Linked DNA regions of Homo sapiens: regions 1, 2 and 3 are each linked to region 4. The links are contacts of gene promoters, found by promoter capture Hi-C in human tissues and cell types (Jung and others, 2019). All regions are on one chromosome and are shown on one strand. Each heading gives the region's core, a stretch centred on a gene start or on the middle of the fragment in contact. The rest is flanking DNA. Distances are from core to core; before and after follow the strand shown. Region 1 has its middle 22 kb from the start of LINC02123. Region 2 has its middle 66 kb from the start of LINC02123. Region 3 overlaps ADCY2 (adenylate cyclase 2). Region 4 holds the start of ADCY2 (adenylate cyclase 2).

What was found. Contacts are between HindIII fragments. The study calls those that stand out against the background at their distance.
Region 1: a contact is called between a fragment that was not itself captured here and the fragment with the promoter of ADCY2 in region 4, in 6 of the 25 tissues and cell types used here (H1 embryonic stem cells, heart left ventricle, mesendoderm cells and 3 more).
Region 2: a fragment that was not itself captured here is called in contact with the fragment with the promoter of ADCY2 in region 4 in 3 of the 25 tissues and cell types used here (liver, mesendoderm cells and thymus).
Region 3: a contact is called between a fragment that was not itself captured here and the fragment with the promoter of ADCY2 in region 4, in 2 of the 25 tissues and cell types used here (dorsolateral prefrontal cortex and small bowel).

Annotation. Positions count from the first base shown.
Region 1 is chr5:7,323,670-7,327,943 of GRCh38, reverse strand. No RefSeq gene overlaps it. Among named protein-coding and RNA genes, the nearest start is that of LINC02123, 22 kb to the left of the region's middle. RefSeq lists an enhancer at 1,314-1,608. The HindIII fragment of the contact is 3,657 bases long and covers 1-3,261 here.
Region 2 is chr5:7,280,246-7,284,463 of GRCh38, reverse strand. No RefSeq gene overlaps it. Among named protein-coding and RNA genes, the nearest start is that of LINC02123, 66 kb to the left of the region's middle. The HindIII fragment of the contact is 4,387 bases long and covers 1-3,901 here.
Region 3 is chr5:7,494,929-7,498,980 of GRCh38, reverse strand. All of the region lies in intron 2 of ADCY2 (adenylate cyclase 2), which reads right to left. Among named protein-coding and RNA genes, the nearest start is that of ADCY2, 100 kb to the right of the region's middle. The HindIII fragment of the contact is 3,128 bases long and covers 128-3,255 here.
Region 4 is chr5:7,394,037-7,398,102 of GRCh38, reverse strand. It overlaps ADCY2 (adenylate cyclase 2), which reads right to left and starts at 1,965. Exons shown (of 25, transcript NM_020546.3): 1 at 1,597-1,965. The coding sequence starts at 1,806. It overlaps LOC107986403 (a long non-coding RNA gene), which reads left to right and starts at 2,154. Exons shown (of 2, transcript XR_001742597.2): 1 at 2,154-4,027. RefSeq lists enhancers at 1,884-2,649, 2,650-3,415. The HindIII fragment of the contact is 8,449 bases long and covers 1-4,066 here.

The sequences.
Region 1 (4,274 bases), core at 184-2,683, 70 kb after region 4:
AATAAGACTCAGTCCCACCAACAGGATGCTCTCACAGGAGACTTTGAATTGGAGCTGAGTTGTATGGCGAAAGATTGGTTCCCATTTGTTGGTATAGCTGGTGATAGAAGTGTCAAGGATCTGTAGCCTGAAATTCTGTGGCTTCTGACTTCACAAGGTAGCTTCTGGATGCCTCCAGACGCTTCAGAAGCAGTAGGGAGAATTTCCTTGATTTTGGCAAACGCAGTTCTGCTATTAGAAGCAATCTTAACAATTCCTTGGTTTACTCCAGAAGAGAAGAGTCTGGTGACTGAGAAGCACTAGGGGTCTCAGAAGCACTAGGGGTGCTTCTGAGAGCACCCCTAGAGCCTGTTTCTCCAGCCTTTGATGATTTTGTATATGTATACTTCTTTGTATTAAGTATCTTTTTACTTAAACCTACTAAAGCATCTGCAATCACACCCTAATCAATGTAAAAGTGAAGCGTTGGCCAAAAATGAATTCCAAATCACCAAAGCTATGCGAGTCTGAATGTACACACGTTTCTTTGTGCAAAGAAGGCAAAAAATGAAAAAAAGACCTTGCGAGACGGTCCCAGGGCACATTTTCTGTACATCTCTGAGTCAAACCTCAATGGTTATTATAAGTGGTTACTATCAGAATTGAACAAGGGCAGAAGTCTCCAAGCTTCTCTGTGAATGGCTTGATTTCTTGGAATAGTGTGGGTACTCGAGGCCTGGGGAAAACACTTGCTGGAGGTGAGCAGATCCTGAGAGCCAGCAGCCACAAAAGTCCAGGATCCATGTGCACAGGAAGCACACCGTTGGGGAAGAGCACTCCAACCTTTCTTCAGAAGGTCCTCTGCAGATCCAGGAGGCCCTGCTCTGAAGAAATGCTCCTGTCAATGATGCGACCTTGGAATCTTTGAGGATCACAAGAGGCTGGTTTAAAGATGCTGGGATACTTTGGCCAGCATTTGTATACGGAGCTGTTGGTAGGGTGTTCTTCACAAATAAACCCATCACCAGTTTGGTTCTTCCTGCTACAAGGGGCTGCCCAAAGTCAAGATCATGAATGCTGTCTTGATAAACTGTACTTTCTAACTTTTATACTGTCAGAGTACTTATGGTACGGGCTACTTTTTCACATGTGAGACTCATTAATGGTGGTGATTCAAACCAGCTGAAGCAGTATTATGGAAATTATTATTTCATTTAATTCTTTTTGCCTGCAGATAAATTGCAAAGTTTGCAAATTTTAAATATCCAGGTCCTGTACCAATTCCCTCATATTTATTGGTCACCGGAAGTTTCAAGAATTTTGGAGCTGATTGAAGAAAAGACAGGACTAGGAGATGACAGTATTGTACAACAAGCTTTATTGAGTGGCACTTGGGCAGGGAAGATGTTGCTCAGCAGTGAGGTGGGGCGTCTCCGGGTCATGGAGCTCTTAGAACAGCAGAAGTTTGGGTCTTTTATAACCACAGAGTTTGTCTTATCTATGGCTAGCAGATGTTGACTGCACTCTCATGGGATGTGCAAAGCAGACAGGCTCTAAATAGCTAAAAAAATAAAATGCTTATGTGAGCTATATGTAAGTGATAGAATGTGTAAAATTTTGAATTTGGTGCTGGAAGGTTTTGCGTTAATTTTCTTATTCTGAAGAAGTAAAAAACTTAGTGTCCAGTATACAGGGTTCCTCTCTGGCCAACTTACACAACAGTGTTGGCACAGCTCTTGGTAGCCCAAGAGTGCGTGAGGCTTCTCTGCACTCACCCATGCTTGCTGCTTCAGCAAGATGAGGGGTCAAGGAACTCCACGTGCCTCACCCTCTCCCTGGGTTCCAGATGACGAAACACAGATCTTTTCTAGTCTTAGTTTCCAAATTGATCCAGAAATTCTACAAAAAAAATTTTAAAGTGAATCATAGAGTTGGCAAGGATTCCACAGAGGCTAAAAAATTAAAAAGTTTAGAAAACTTTGGAGGCATGTTCTGGGCCAATCTCTCAGCCAACTCCTGCTCAATAGTGGGGACGATCTGATGACTCGTGCTTGGGTACCCAATCACCTCATATTTGCACTCCACATGCAGTTCAGTTCCTCCCATCCCAGAGCCAAATAAAATCAGGTTCTTTTATGTGAAGATAAATAATCTATTCTTGTGCCAATATGTGTTAACTCTTATTATATTTTAGTAGTTGGATTATTTGTAATAAGTGTGATAAAAAGAGTATTGAAATTAAATCTGGCTGGGTGCAGTGGCTCAAGCCTGTAATCCCAGCACTTTGGGAGGCCAAAGTGGGCAAATCGCTTGAGGCCAGGAGTTCAAGACCAGCCTGGCCAACATGGTGAAACCTCCTGTTTACTAAAAAGACAAAATTTAGCTGGGCATGGTGGCTGGCACCTGTAACCTAAGCTACTTGGGAGGTTGAGGCAGGAGAATCACTTGAGTCCAGGAGGCGGAGGTTGCAGTAAGCCGAGATTGTGCCATTACACTCCAGCCTAGGAGACAGAGTGAGGCTCCATTGCCCCCATAAAATAATAATGAAAGAAAAAAGAAAAAAAAAGAAATTAAATCTGTCCCTGAAAATTCAATGCCTGGGATTTTCATTACAACCAATATTGACACGGGAGAGTAACTAATTTACTCAATAAATGCTTATTAGATGTTGACTAAATGCTCACAATATTTTATACCTAATTAATGAATGAATGATAATTTTTTTCTAATACATTTTTAAGTAAAAAATTTCAACCTAGCCCAATTATTTTAAATCTTCTTTTTATATCGAGAAGTATTTGTTGTCTGTGGTGAGAGGTTATTTCCCACTAAACATTGTTGATGATGTAATCTATGACGAACAGATCACACTATTTCTGTAGGCTCTATTATTATTTTTTCTAGTATTTTGATAGGGCTTTAAGGAGGAAAATAATGGTAAGCCTAACAACCTTAATATTTCGTTCATTGATCAGCATATCTGAAACACGGATTTGCTTTATGATATGCAAAATAATTATGTACAAGAATATTGGTTTATCTGCAAGTTTTTTAAGTGAAAGAAATATGCCTCTAAAGAAAAGAAAGCCAATAGCCCAGGTAAAATCTCTCAGGGCAGTATTTAAGTCTGTGAACTCTTCTTTCTTTGCTAAATCCACTCTATTTCTGGAGAAAAATCCACAGCACTGATATGAAGGTGGTTGAGGTTTTATTTTAGCTTTTCAAGACACTTTGTATTGAAGAAAATGTGCTACCATGGTTTAGCAAAATAATCCAAGCCCACTGATGTTACCACTGAATCTATAAGCAGGAAGCATAAAACTACTGAAGTAAAAAATAAAAGTGGGGTGGGCCCAGCAAAACTGAAGTAAATGATCTGGACTAGAATGTTAAATCTCATCCCTCAGAAATCCAGTAGCTAAGGAATTGGCTGTACAAGTTTATGAATTCAGAAAATGTCATCTTGTAAAAGTTACATTATGAAAGTGAAGTGTATTTTTATGTGGGCTTCTAGGGCTATCCATGATGTTACCAGTTTTAGGTTCAGCAAACAAGCCCTGTGTCTTTCAGTGACCTTCCATGAGTGGGCCAAAGCCTGCACCCACCTTACAGTTGATGTCAGTCCATGCACAGCAACGGAACCGAGGACCCACCAACTGCAGAGGGCTGTGTGTAGAGTAGTGTTTGTTTCAGTGGAGGAGGATATTGTATGTAAGAACAATGCCATCATATATCAGATTTTTAATTTATAAAAATAATTTTAGCACAGAAGATATCAATCTCTTTCAACATTTGAGTGCTAATTAACCATGTTTGCTCTATCTCATTTAATTCCTGTTTTTAACCAATTAGGCTTTCAAGAGTTAAGTACTGTGCTCAGTTTTACCAACTAGAGATATCAGGGCCAGGATTTGAACCCAGATCTTTGATTTGTCAATTCAAGGCTTTAACGACGGCACTACGCTGCCACTTTCTTTGCAGTTAATCCCACAGTTCTCTCCAGAGTCCTTATTTGGGATGTTACAGACACTATGATGTCACCATTGCTTCAGCCAAAGGGAAATTCAGTAGTATTGCTTGATAAGCACACCTCAAATATCAATATTGTTTTAAATTGTTTTTCTTTCAGTTTCTTCCATAGATTGCAAAGATTCTGTTTAATTTGATGATTCTACTTGATGCACTGATTTTGCTAAGAAACTCTATTCTCCATATACTAGTTGTGTAGCTCTCTGAAAGCCTCTTTCTGCTGGAGTGAACCCCACACCACAGATTTTACATGGTTCTCATCCCTG
Region 2 (4,218 bases), core at 459-2,958, 110 kb after region 4:
GATGATTCTGATAATGTACAAATGATTCAACTGTAACAACTAGGAGGAAAGAGTAAAAGAAAGGGGAAAGTAGGAATTAGCTCCCTGATTGCCTCATCTATAATAGCTGAGAGTAGTGGGTTCATTTTAAATCTCAAAATTTGCCCATAATAGTATGAAAACATTAAGTGGCAAAAAGGCAAATATTAAGAAATATCCTGCCACAAAAATCAAATAGTTCAGGAGAAGTTGAGAAAGTGAAAATAGCATAGAGTCTAATTTAATTGCCACTCATTGTGGGGAACCATTAGGTATTATCTAAATAAATGGAGAAAAATATAAATGCAGGTAAAATTACAAAAATAACAACCAGAAAACTACATCTTTCTTATCAATAAAAATAAATCATCATTTAACAATATAAAATATTTAATAATAATAAATACTAAATTTTACAATACATATACAAGAAATACACCAAAATCAAATAGAGCCAAATTTTTTTTAAATAAAATGGTCAACAAATACCAAACAGACAAATGCTAACAAATGAATTATCAACCTATTTTTATTGTCTTCTCCTTGCTTATTTTTTTAAATTCCTTTTTAAAATTTTGTTTAGATACTTTAAAATTACTCTTTTTATATTATTTTCTCTAATAATTCTAACCTTCTGGTTTTGTTTCTCAACATTTCTGCTGTTTCTATCACAATATCTATTTTCCTTGAGTGTTTTCTTGTTGGTGGTGTTCTTTTCTGGTTTTTGTTTGTTTTGTTTGTTTGTTTTGGTTTTGATTGAAAGAAATACAACAATGGAAGCTCACACTACTGCAGGGTGCTTCTCCAGATTTTGCCTATCACTCATAATTCTACTTTTATTTACTTTTCAGATTCCTCAGTTAGTTGCTTATTGTACTTTTCATAGTTTTAGTTGTAATCAACATGTAAGATAGGCTACAGGGAGCTTATCCTGCCACAAAATACCAGAAATCCATCTTTTTTTGGTTTCTTAAAAAAAGTCATTTTGAACTTGTAATTTGTAGGAAGGAACGCAGATTTAGAGGCATACATTTTCCATGACATGGACAAATCATTTAACAATGTTAAGTCTCTATTTCAGCAAATACAGAAAAGATATGATTCACAGGACAAGAAAACTGACAGTTAAGAACTTACATGCAAAGGCATTTCAACAAATAATATAATCCATCCTACTCCTAAGAGAGGAAAATTTGTATTAATGAAACTTCTACCAGGTATCACTTTCACCTCAGTTAATCCACAAACATGAAGTCAGCAACATTTTGTGATAAACCATATCCAAACAGTTGATTGATGAAATGTCATTAATAGAACAGCAGTTATCCATGATTCAGTAAAAATTCATCAATCACCCATACAACAAACTTAATTCCATCTTATACTAAGCACATACACTACAGTGAAAACTGTCAACTTCTGATGATCTAAAAATGTCTCTTCTATGACCATGTGATCACACTGAAATAAAGAATACAGAAAATTCATAGATGGTCAGTTAAAAAAAAGCTTCCGTGAAGCAATAAACTTTCCTTAAAAATGCTAAAATAATAACATAGACTGCATAATATAACACTCATTTTACTGACATAATCTGTTGGGGCATTTTGTGAATCAAATACTTTCTTTTATATATACTTATAAATGTCATACCAGAATTACACATTTTCTAATGAAATATAAAAGCATAAAAGAATCGTATTCATAAGTTGATTTAATCATTGTCTCGAGTTCAATATTACAAACAAGTGTAATTATGGTACAAGTACAAAACAAATGGTGATTAAAGCATGTCAGAAAACAGATGTTCCTGCATACAGATGGACAATCCAATTAATACTTCTCAAATAGAAAACAGCTATTTACTCCTTACTAATGAATGATATAATTATTTATCATTAATGCAGCTTGGTTTTTTAATGTCTCCATGAAGAGCTTAAATATAATTTTCCTAAAGATGCATTTGGGCCAGGCGCCGAGGCTCAGGCCTGTAATCCCAGCACTTTGGAAGGCCAAGGCAGGCGGATCACGAGGTCAGGAGATCGAGACCATCCTGGCTAACATGGTGAAAACCCGTCTCTACTAAAAGTACAAAAAAATTAGCTAGGCGTGGTGGCGGGCGCTTGTAGTCCCAGCTATTCGGGAGGCTGAGGCAGGAGAATGGCGGGAACCTGGGAGGCGGAGCTTGCAGTGGGCTGAGATCGCGCCACTGCACTCCAGCCTGGGCGACAGAGCAAGACTCCATCTCAAAAAAATAAATAAAAATAAATAAATAAATACATAAATAAATAAATAAGAAAAAAGATGTATTTGGATGGTTAATGTATTTTTAATGTATAATTATCTATTGTAGTTAAAAGATGATCAAATGTGCTGATTCACTCAGTGTCTATGTTTCAAATGCAGGACTTAAGGAACAATTTGCCATAAGCCACCAACTTATTGTTTTCTTTTAAATTATATATCTAACACGCATACACACACACAATATATATATATACAAAACATTAATAATGATGAAAATGTTGAGAATCATGAAGAATGGTATATATGTAATACATATGTTTTTTTCACAAGAGTTTTCCAACTACTCTACTTTTTTTTTTTAGTAGAATACATTAGATACTACAAAAGAAATGAAAATAAAATGATGTGGAATAGCAGGTAAGAGAGCTAAGAATCAGGCTAGCTACAAATAGAGCATTTGTAAATGAAAATTGAGATGCCATGGTGTGATGGCAGGCTCTCCTCCTGATAACACGAAGCTCATCCCAGCAACGGTGTTAGGCTTGCCTCGCTAGCATCAGGTAACATGATCATATCTCTATAGTTAGATTTTGAGAGATGGAAGAAAATCAGGATTCCTCGGCTTATAGGTGGCAAGAAGAACTTGAAAAGTTTTGATGGAAAGATCCAAAAATTATTCGTGGATTTGGAAAACAAAACAAAACAGATTCCCAGAGGAGGAAATAATGGTTTAGCCTTAAGAAAAAGGACTGAAGAGAGAGTAATGTACAATAAGTACCTTATATATCTCCATCTCAGTTTTATATGCTATATATACATTTTATATGCACAAATTTTTATGACATATATACACACTATATATATATATATATATATACACACACACAATATGAATAATTTATATATAAATATAAAGATGGGGGTAAAAACCCCCACCTTTATTTTGAGACTGACTACATGTTACATTAAACCGGAAAATAGTGGAATCTCTTCTTTCCATTTGTGTTGAAAAATAGGACAAATTCCCATTTATCTGATGTTGACATGGATATGTCCTGGAGCAATAGAAGGGCAGGGGTGGCCCTTTACATGCTCTCCACCTCTCTCAACCTATAATTCTCTGGTTATACATTCCTTTTATTAGAACAAGTCAATAAAATTGTCCATAAACAAAAGCAAGCTTTCCTCCCTGAATAGTTTGGCTCAAAGTATTGAGAAATGGAACTGCAAACCCAATTTTCCTCTTGGTTCCTTTTTGGAAATAAAAAAAAAAAAATCAATATCAAGAAGAGAGGTCTTTTGACCAGTGAAAAACACCTCAATTAATTGCATGTGAAAAACAGCTTTTTTTTTTTTTTTTTTTTTTTTTTTTGCTATCAGCTGCTAGTGACCATCCTGAAATGCCTGCCTGTCATTTGGCCCTGGGAATATTAGCACGTGACAGTGGAACTTCAGCCCCTCTGTTTTCCCCAATATGGAAGCACACAGAAATCACTTCTCCAGGTCAGAGGAAAAACGGAAAATGAAACTTATATTAGTGGAGTCAATTCCGACTTTATGAAGCGTCTACAGGTCTATTTCCTGGGCTAGTGCAAGGAAGTGTTCCCATCTGAACTTGACACATGAAAAAATTAAGGCACAGAGAATGAAAGAGATTATGTATGGGAACACGTAGCTTTCCACCTCCAAAACTTATACTCTTTACTGCTACCTAAATCTGCCATGCCGATTAATTACCACAGATCCTACAAAGCATATGGCACATTGATGACTAATCTGTGATTACTTTATGTTTTATGGAAAGTGCTGACGGCATTGATATCTGCTTTGCCATTTTACCGTATCAGCCAGGACATGTAGTCATTGCAATTTGTTACTGTAGCCTGATTCCCCCACCAAGCTATTGCCAGGTAACAGTTTATCCTTTGTAGATAAACTTACCTTCCTGTCTCC
Region 3 (4,052 bases), core at 442-2,941, 100 kb before region 4:
AATTTTGGCTATTTTTAAGATTTATATGAATGGACTCATACAACATATATCCTTTTATGCTTGGCTTTTTCTGGCCAACATTATACTTGTGACATTTGGCCATGTCTCTGAATGTAATCATTATGGTTGCTTCATTGTCATCACTGTCTAGCATCCCATTGTGTAAATATAGCACACTTTATTTCATTGTTCTTCTGCTAGTGGACATGTAGGTAGTTTTCTAATTTAAACTACTACCACAGTGCTGCTGTGAACATTCTTGTACATATCTTTGATGAATATATTTTAACATTTATGTTGAATATAAACTGAGGAATGAAATTGCTGTGCAGTAGGCTGTGCACATGTTGAACTATAGTAGATACTAATTTACAGTTTTTCAAGTAGTTGAACCAATTTACATTATCAAAAGCATTGTATAAGAGTTTTACTTGGCCGGGCACGGTGGCTCACGCCTGTAATCCCAGCACTTTGGGAGGCTGAAGCAGGCGGATCACGAGGTCAGGAGATCGAGACCATCCTGGTTAACACGGTGAAACCCCGTCTCTACTAAAAATACAAAAAATTAGCCAGGTGCGGTGGGGGGCGCCTGTAGTCCCAGCTACTTGGGAGGCTGAGGCAGGAGAATGGCGTGAACCTGGGAGGTGGAGTTTGCAGTGAGCCAAGATTGTGCCACTGCACCCCAGCCTGGGCGATAGAGCGAGACTCTGTCTTAAAAAAAAAAAAAAAAAAAAAAAAAAACGAAAAAAGAAAAAGAGTTTTACTTACTCTATATCCTTGTCAATACTACTCCCATTTATAAGTTTGATTATCTCTATATTTTCAGAAATTATAACATTTACATATACTGTTCTCCCACACTTGTCTCTACTTTCATTTTACTCTCGGATCTACAGAGTATCCATAAAGTTTGAAAAGAGATAATATTGTTTTTACTATTATTGTTGTTTTTGTTTTACAAAATGAAGGTGTCCTAGAAAACACTGTAAATGTTCACCCATGCTTCCAGTTTCAATGAATACACTGCAGAACTCAGTATATTCACTTATTCAATGGACACCCTAAGTCCTTTTGTCTATGTTTTTCAGTCATTTCTTCTTAGATAATTCTGGTCCTTCAGTCTGGTGCTACTGAAAGTGTTGTCTACCGACTGGTAACTGGTTAAATAAATATAAGAAACTTGTGCCAAATTAAATACATTATTTCACTAAGAACATTGTTTAGTTCAGGCAACTTTTTTTTTTCGGTGCAATTTCTTCCTAATTCCACCTGGGCATGGTTTCCATATCCGGCTCTGCTGGTAGCTTGTACGTGAAAGTTTATTTCTCAACATAAAAATTACATAGGTGCTTGCTAATTTCTCTCTCCTCATTATGGATGAATTATGAATGACTTTTGGATGCTTTCATTTGCTCTCCTTATTGATGCAATTTTTTTGGAGGGATGTGTGAAAAAATTTAGATTATGAGGCCGCCTCAACTAGATATTACTGACACTAGAATACTGAAACTGGAAACTGTAATTTCCTGTTTTTATTCCCAAATGGTTAGCTAACACTTTTTTTGAAGGCTCAAATTAATTTCCCACTGATTCGAAATGACACATTTATACTTGAAACTATTTCTGTTCCAGCTATCCATTTTTATTCTTTTAATTATAAACCATATACATTTTAATATCACAAAAATTCAAGTAATTCTCTACAGATCTGCTTTATATAACTGCCCTGGTTATTCTTGTTTGTGTATCTTCCATACTGTTAGTGACATGTGATTAATCTTCCCATACTTGCATGTGTATTTTGGTTGAGACTGCCTTCATTTGAGAGATTAAAGATGGGAAATTTGATACTTTTTAAAGAACATTGCATCTTCATAAGTGGGAATGTGCTTTATCTTTGGATGCATTGATAGCTTCTCTTATGGCATTCCTTAAAGTTTGATAGTTTTCTTCAAGAAATTCTGAACAATTCAAGTGTAGTTGGGAAATTAATAAGGACCTGAGTCTATATATTTAAGGGTCAATTAAGTACCTGAGAAAACTGACCTAAAACGATTAATGCCAAGGAAATTCTGACCATTGCTTATGTTTATTCCTAGATATATTATTGCTGATATATTCATATAAAATATTCCTAGATATATTATTCATGTAAATAAAGTTATTGCCCCATTATATTTGCTAACTTTTTGTTCCTTATATATTGGAAAGTAGTTAAGCTTCACTCCTAACGTAATTAATCCCTCCATTAATGCTAGTGGTTTTCAATTGAGTCTCTCGTTTATCAGGAGCTAATACTAAAAATGACTAAAATTTACAGAGGGCATACTCTCTGTCAACTATTGTAAAATAATAATCTTATATGCATTATCCAATTTATTTTAACAACAAAATTGTGAAGTATATGGTATTAATATTCTCAATTGAAAAATTAAATATTAAAGCTTAGAGAGGTTAAATAACATGGCCGAATTCATTCAGCTATTATATATCAAGGTCAATGTGTAATAGCCACAATTAGTGATCATTTTTTCTTATCCTTTCTGTATACTTTCATTTTTCTCCTTGTTCAACCAGCTTGGTTAAGTACAGTGTTACCCAACAGAATTAAGAGCACACACCCTCTTTAGTCTTCGTCTTAATGATAATTCCTCCAATGTTACATTCCTAAGAATTTGGAGTTAGCGATTTTTATTAAAATGTTGTTGCTTTTATAAACATTTTATAAAGTGTATAGGAAATTTCCTTTTGATTTTTTATCTTGCTAAGAGTTTCTCCCCTATAAATTAGAGTGGATTTATCAGAACTATTATTCAGCATGCCCTTTTGCATGGTGTGTTGTTTGCCTTCAAAATCAAATATTTAATGAAAAATCATAAGTCTTAGACAACCCCTGATAGTTCCAATCTTTGGTTCTTACATTTTAAACAGGCCATTCACACTTTAATCTTGGACTATGCAGCAGCAACAACCACCCTTCAGTGCTTGCCTAGGAGAACTGCACTTACAATGGGTTACTTTGCAGAGAAAGAACACACATGTATTGGTAGGCGTGAAAGAAAATTATTTTTATAAATTCAGTCATCTTCTACGTGATTACTCCTTTTTCTAAAATGAAAACTTTCCACTGACTGGCTAAATAATTCATTGAAAGTGCCTCCAAATCTATTTCTAAATTTAAGAAATGAAAAGTATTTCACAGACTATTTTTAGATAAGGATGTCAAAATGTTCAGATTTAGCATACTCGCATAACGTTCCAGAGGGAAAAAAAGGTACAGTATGATTGTTCCAGGTTTACTTGTAATGAGACCAACTGCATTGGAAATAAAACACTATTTAAGAAGCAACTTTTATTACCAACAGATGAAATAACTTAGTCTCCTCAAGATTAAAAGCAATTCATAAATACACTCATTTTAGGTCATTTTGTGCAAAAATAACTATCCTCCTTTGCAAATAGATTTAGATTCATTTTCTGGGAACAAAACAAAATTTCTGATATTAAGGTCTGCTATTCTTCTGCAATAATATCCCGTTTTATGCTTATAGCATTAATTTCCAAAGCTAATTAATTTATCCTATCTTAAGAGTTCATGGTAGCAGACTAGAGTCTTCCAAACAAAAGAGCTTGATGATGCAATGAAGCTCGAAATTCCTGACACAGAGATACAGGCGTTTCCTGGCACACAAGGAACAAGGGCACAAGTTCCCACGAAGCCAATTTAACTCCTTTTATTTAGAGCATATTCAGGAGTGAAGTCAGATGCAGAACATGGAGGTGAGGCACGGGGGTGATTAGGGCTAACATACATGTGCAGGCACCTAAACATGGCTTATAGACTAGACTGCACTAAAGATAGTCACCAGGATATTAAATATGGGTTTGCCTGAGTTTTGTTTTATCTTTGAGACATGGAAAATTTGAGCAAGAAATGGTAAAAGCAAAGTGACAGCAGAGATGAGGAAAAGCTGGACAATTCCCCAGACAGGGTGTGGCCAAGCCTTGGGTGCAGCCACTGGCACATCCACAACATGGCAGCTGGTCCGGTG
Region 4 (4,066 bases), core at 716-3,215:
CCCAGCAGAACAGATTTCCAAAGGAAAACTCTGATGTTTCTTTTCTTCCTGGCAAGTAAAAAATAATAAGTAGATGACTTTAGAGATCCTGCTTGCCCATGAGACTGAGCAGAAGTCTCTCCCCAAGTCCTTTTTGTTCCTAAAAGTAGTAAAGAGAGATAAAAATGCCATTCCAGAGAGCATAGAAGGCTGGTTACATGTGGAGAGAGTGAGGGTTTCTCCGGACTCCTATCTAGACTACAGGGATCAAAAGTTACTCTCTGCTCTAGGTTTGATAGTACAAGAGCCAGTGTGTGATCTGTGACTTCATGGCCTCCTACATTCTATTTCTATTCTTACCTCATTGAACTCAATCAGTAGACAGCTACCATTGAGTGGTGTGGGGGAATTTTTTTATTTTTTAAAAACATGATGGTAACAATTCTTCCCATGCATAACATTTGAACACCATCTGGCTCCGGACATCCTAAACAAATTGCCAAATACCAAGGACAGCTATTTTATGCATGGTGAAATATAAGCAAAATCCACTTCTTTGGTGGTGGACACATATAAATATAGGCACATATTTATATTCTAAGCTCAAAATACATCACCCAGTGGACACATTCACAGATCAACCACTGACTAAAAAAAAAAAAAAAAAAAAAAAAAAAACTCACTGGTGGATAATCAATGCCTCGCACAAAATCTGCACATGCATGTCACAGGCAGTGCAAAAGTTTGAACCACACACTCAGAGATCAGTAACAGGAAGTTATCGCCATCTACAGACTTCCCCTCACTTTTCAAGGGAGCGAGCCAAGGATTTCTGCTTGAAAAATATAAACTGGCAAAACTGACATCAGCTGTTGAGCTGCATTATACTCCTCGTGATGAAATCCACTTTAATAACCTGTCCAAAACCCTAAACACGTTACTTCTTTAGAAACGGGAAAGCAATCGTCCGTCCCAAACGCTTCTTAACTGTAGTCTCTGAGATGAAAGATTGATTCACAAGTCAACACCACATCACTTTCCGTCTATCGGGCTAAAGAGCTAAATGCATACAGATTTAAAGGCAAAGATGTATACTTAATTTTTCTTCTTCATTTTCCTTGTCATTAACCACTTTCCCAAGGCAGGCTTTCTGCAGAGTTGAATAACGCCCAATCCCAACTAAAATGCCAACTGTGGGGCCATGCCAGTGGAACCGGGCAGGAGACAGCGACTCGCCCAGGAAGCCCAGGGCTGAGTCGGGGAAGACCTATTCCAGCGCTGCGGGCAGCGGTGCCCGGCGGAAAGCGCAGAGTTTGCCAGCGGGTGCGCAAAGATGCAAAAAGCACACGCCCTGCCCGTCCACCTGGTGAACACCTCGGGAACTTTATTTTGGGAAGAGCCTTCCCAGGAAACTTTTCTCCCGCCCGCAGCCCTTGCCAGAGTCCACCGGGCCGCGGGCCAGCAGGAGAAGCAGGGAGCCGCGGGCCGAGGGGCTGCCGCGGGCCGAGGGGCTGCCGCGGGCCGAGGGGCAGCCCGGAGCGGGACGCGGCTCGGCTGGCCGGGCTCCTCTCAGGGCCGGGGAAGGCGCGGCGCTGGACCCGCGGGGAGGCCACTCACCAGCCCGAGCGCGAAGAAGACGGCGAGCAGGGCGAGGCAGGAGCCCATGACGATGAGCAGCAGGAAGACGATGAGCGGGTGCTGCTGGCTCATGCAGTAGTAGGACTCGTAGAGCCAGTCCCGGGACCGCGGCAGCCCGTCTCCGCCGCCCGCCGCCTCCTCGGAGCGGTCCCGCAGGTAGCGGCGGCGCCGCATCGCCTCCTGCCACATCGGGGCCGCTCACAGGGCGCCCGCCGTGCGCGCCCGGCCCGGGCAGCGCCGCTCGCCGCGGCCGCCCGCGTCCCACCCCCGCGCCGCCTCGGCCGGCCCGGCTGCCGGCACCCGGAGCTGCGCGCAGGGGCCTCCGGCGCGGGCGGAGCTCGGCGCCCCGGGCTGGGCGCGCTGACGCGCGGGCGGGGGCCGGGCGGCGGCCTCGGGGGCAGCTCCCGGCGCCGCCGCCGCCACCGCCACCGCGCGGGAGGGGGCGGGTTCCACGGGGCCCTCCGCCCGCCGCTCCCCGCCCCGCGCGCAGCCGGCCTCCGTGCAGGGGCGGTGTCGGCCCCCACCCGACGGCCCGGCTGCAGGCTGGGGACGGCGGGGGCTGTACGGTGGGGGGAGTGGCGAACTGAGGGGCTCCCGCTGCGCCCCGGCCCGGGGTCGTCCTCGCCCGCCGGCCTCCCACACTCAGCCACCAGGTCGTCCACCTCCTCTGCCCTATCCCGAGTGCAGCGTGGGTGGGGTGGGAGGGACGGCCCTCCCCGCTACGAAGTGAGAACACAGCCTAAGGGGTGGAGGGAGGGAGTCCTACCCCCACCACTCCCCCCGCCCCACCTGGCTCGGAGCACTGCGGGGCTCCTCAGCTCCTCTCCACTACCTCAAGGTCAGCGGGCAGGGACGCTGCCACCCTCCTGTTTCCTCCACCCCTTAGTGGGCTGCGGGGCCTGCTCCCACCCTCCCCCACAGTCACAGAGCGCAGCCGGGGTCAGAGGACCCGGGGGGTCCCTCCTTTAGTACGCGGGTCAGAGGACAGCGGGGTCTCCCTCCTTTTCACTCTTTTGGGGAGCTGGAGAGGATTTCCCACCCTTCCCGCCTCCCCGCGGTGGGCACCGGTTTGCCGTCCAGCCCTTCTTCCCCTCAGCGTAGCAGGGTTGAGGGCTCCCCCATCCTCTCCACCCTCTTGAGAGGGCCGGGGCTCCCTGCGAGGGCGGCAGGGCGCGGAAACGCCAGGGGACCTAACTGGAGACCGGCACCATGTGGAAGTGAAGCGGCAGTGACTGCACTGGGAGCCCCCGCCACGGCCTCGCGGGGGCAGCGTCCGTTGCGCCCTGCACGCTCAGCTTCAGTCACACTTTGGAGGTGCCGTATAAGCCTGTCATATCACAGGTTTACAGAGCTGCCCCGTGGCTGGTCGTGGTCCTCGCCGAGCCCCTCTGCTGAGCGGGGATGGCGGCAAAGGGGCGCCGGGGAGAGCGGCTGGGCGCGGGAGCGGGCGGGTCGGCCCTGGGAGTAGCTCCCTCCCTGTCACCTTGGGGGCCTGGACGCAGGAGGCGCTAGAGACCCGGCAGGAGCGTTGTGGGGGCGGATGTCACCAGGGACAGTGTCCCCTCCCGACACGCGTGGGAGCGGAGGCCGCTGGCCTTCGCCCTGGGGGCCGAAGGGGCTTCATTGCTTATCACCAAAGGAACCCACCCTTCTGGAAGTTTCCTCCTATTCGAGTGTGGTCCGGCCCAAAGAGCCCCCAAATCCCACCTCCTCCCCCAAAGCCTTACCCCAAGGAATCCAAGGCACAAGAGCCCTCCCTTCTCCTGCCACCAGCGAGCATCCCAGAGGGCAGCCCCAGAGGGCTGTTCCATGCACTTTTCATCTCTTCCAGGAGATGACCAGCTCTCAGGACTCAGCCTTGTCACCACCTAAGACCTCAGAACCTTCTCGAATGGCCCCATGCCCCGCCTCCCTGGCTGTCCTGTCCTCCTCGCTGGCAGAGGGCATGTAAGCTAGGTAGCTGCGTTACCCTGAGCACAGGGCCAGGCCGGGCACGGATCCTTCCAGAGGTTTTCATTTTAGCATCCGTCAGTGCCCACAGGGCCTAAGGATGAGGGCTCAGGAGCTGCACAGCTCACCCGCAGATCTCATAGACACCAGAGGCAGGGAGGTGGCCGAGGAGACTGGGCCCAGGGCTGCGTGCAGTACCTCAGGTCCGGCCCCACCAGGCTCCCTGGTCCCTGGACTTCCCTCCTTCTGAGGACCTGGAAACAAGGAGTGGAGGAGGAGGCAATGGGTGGGGGGGTGTCCCCCTGAAGCCTCCTGTAGGTCCCAAGGCTCACCTCCCACCGTGGGTCATCCTGCCCTAGCAGCAGAAAGAAATTCTCTTCCCTGCAGTGTTTATGGACTGCTGCCCCCACCCTGTCCTGCCTGCCCTCCACTCCAACACCCTCCTGTGACTGTAACCCAGGTAATTTCAACCTCAGACCCTCCCACCAAACCTCACTGG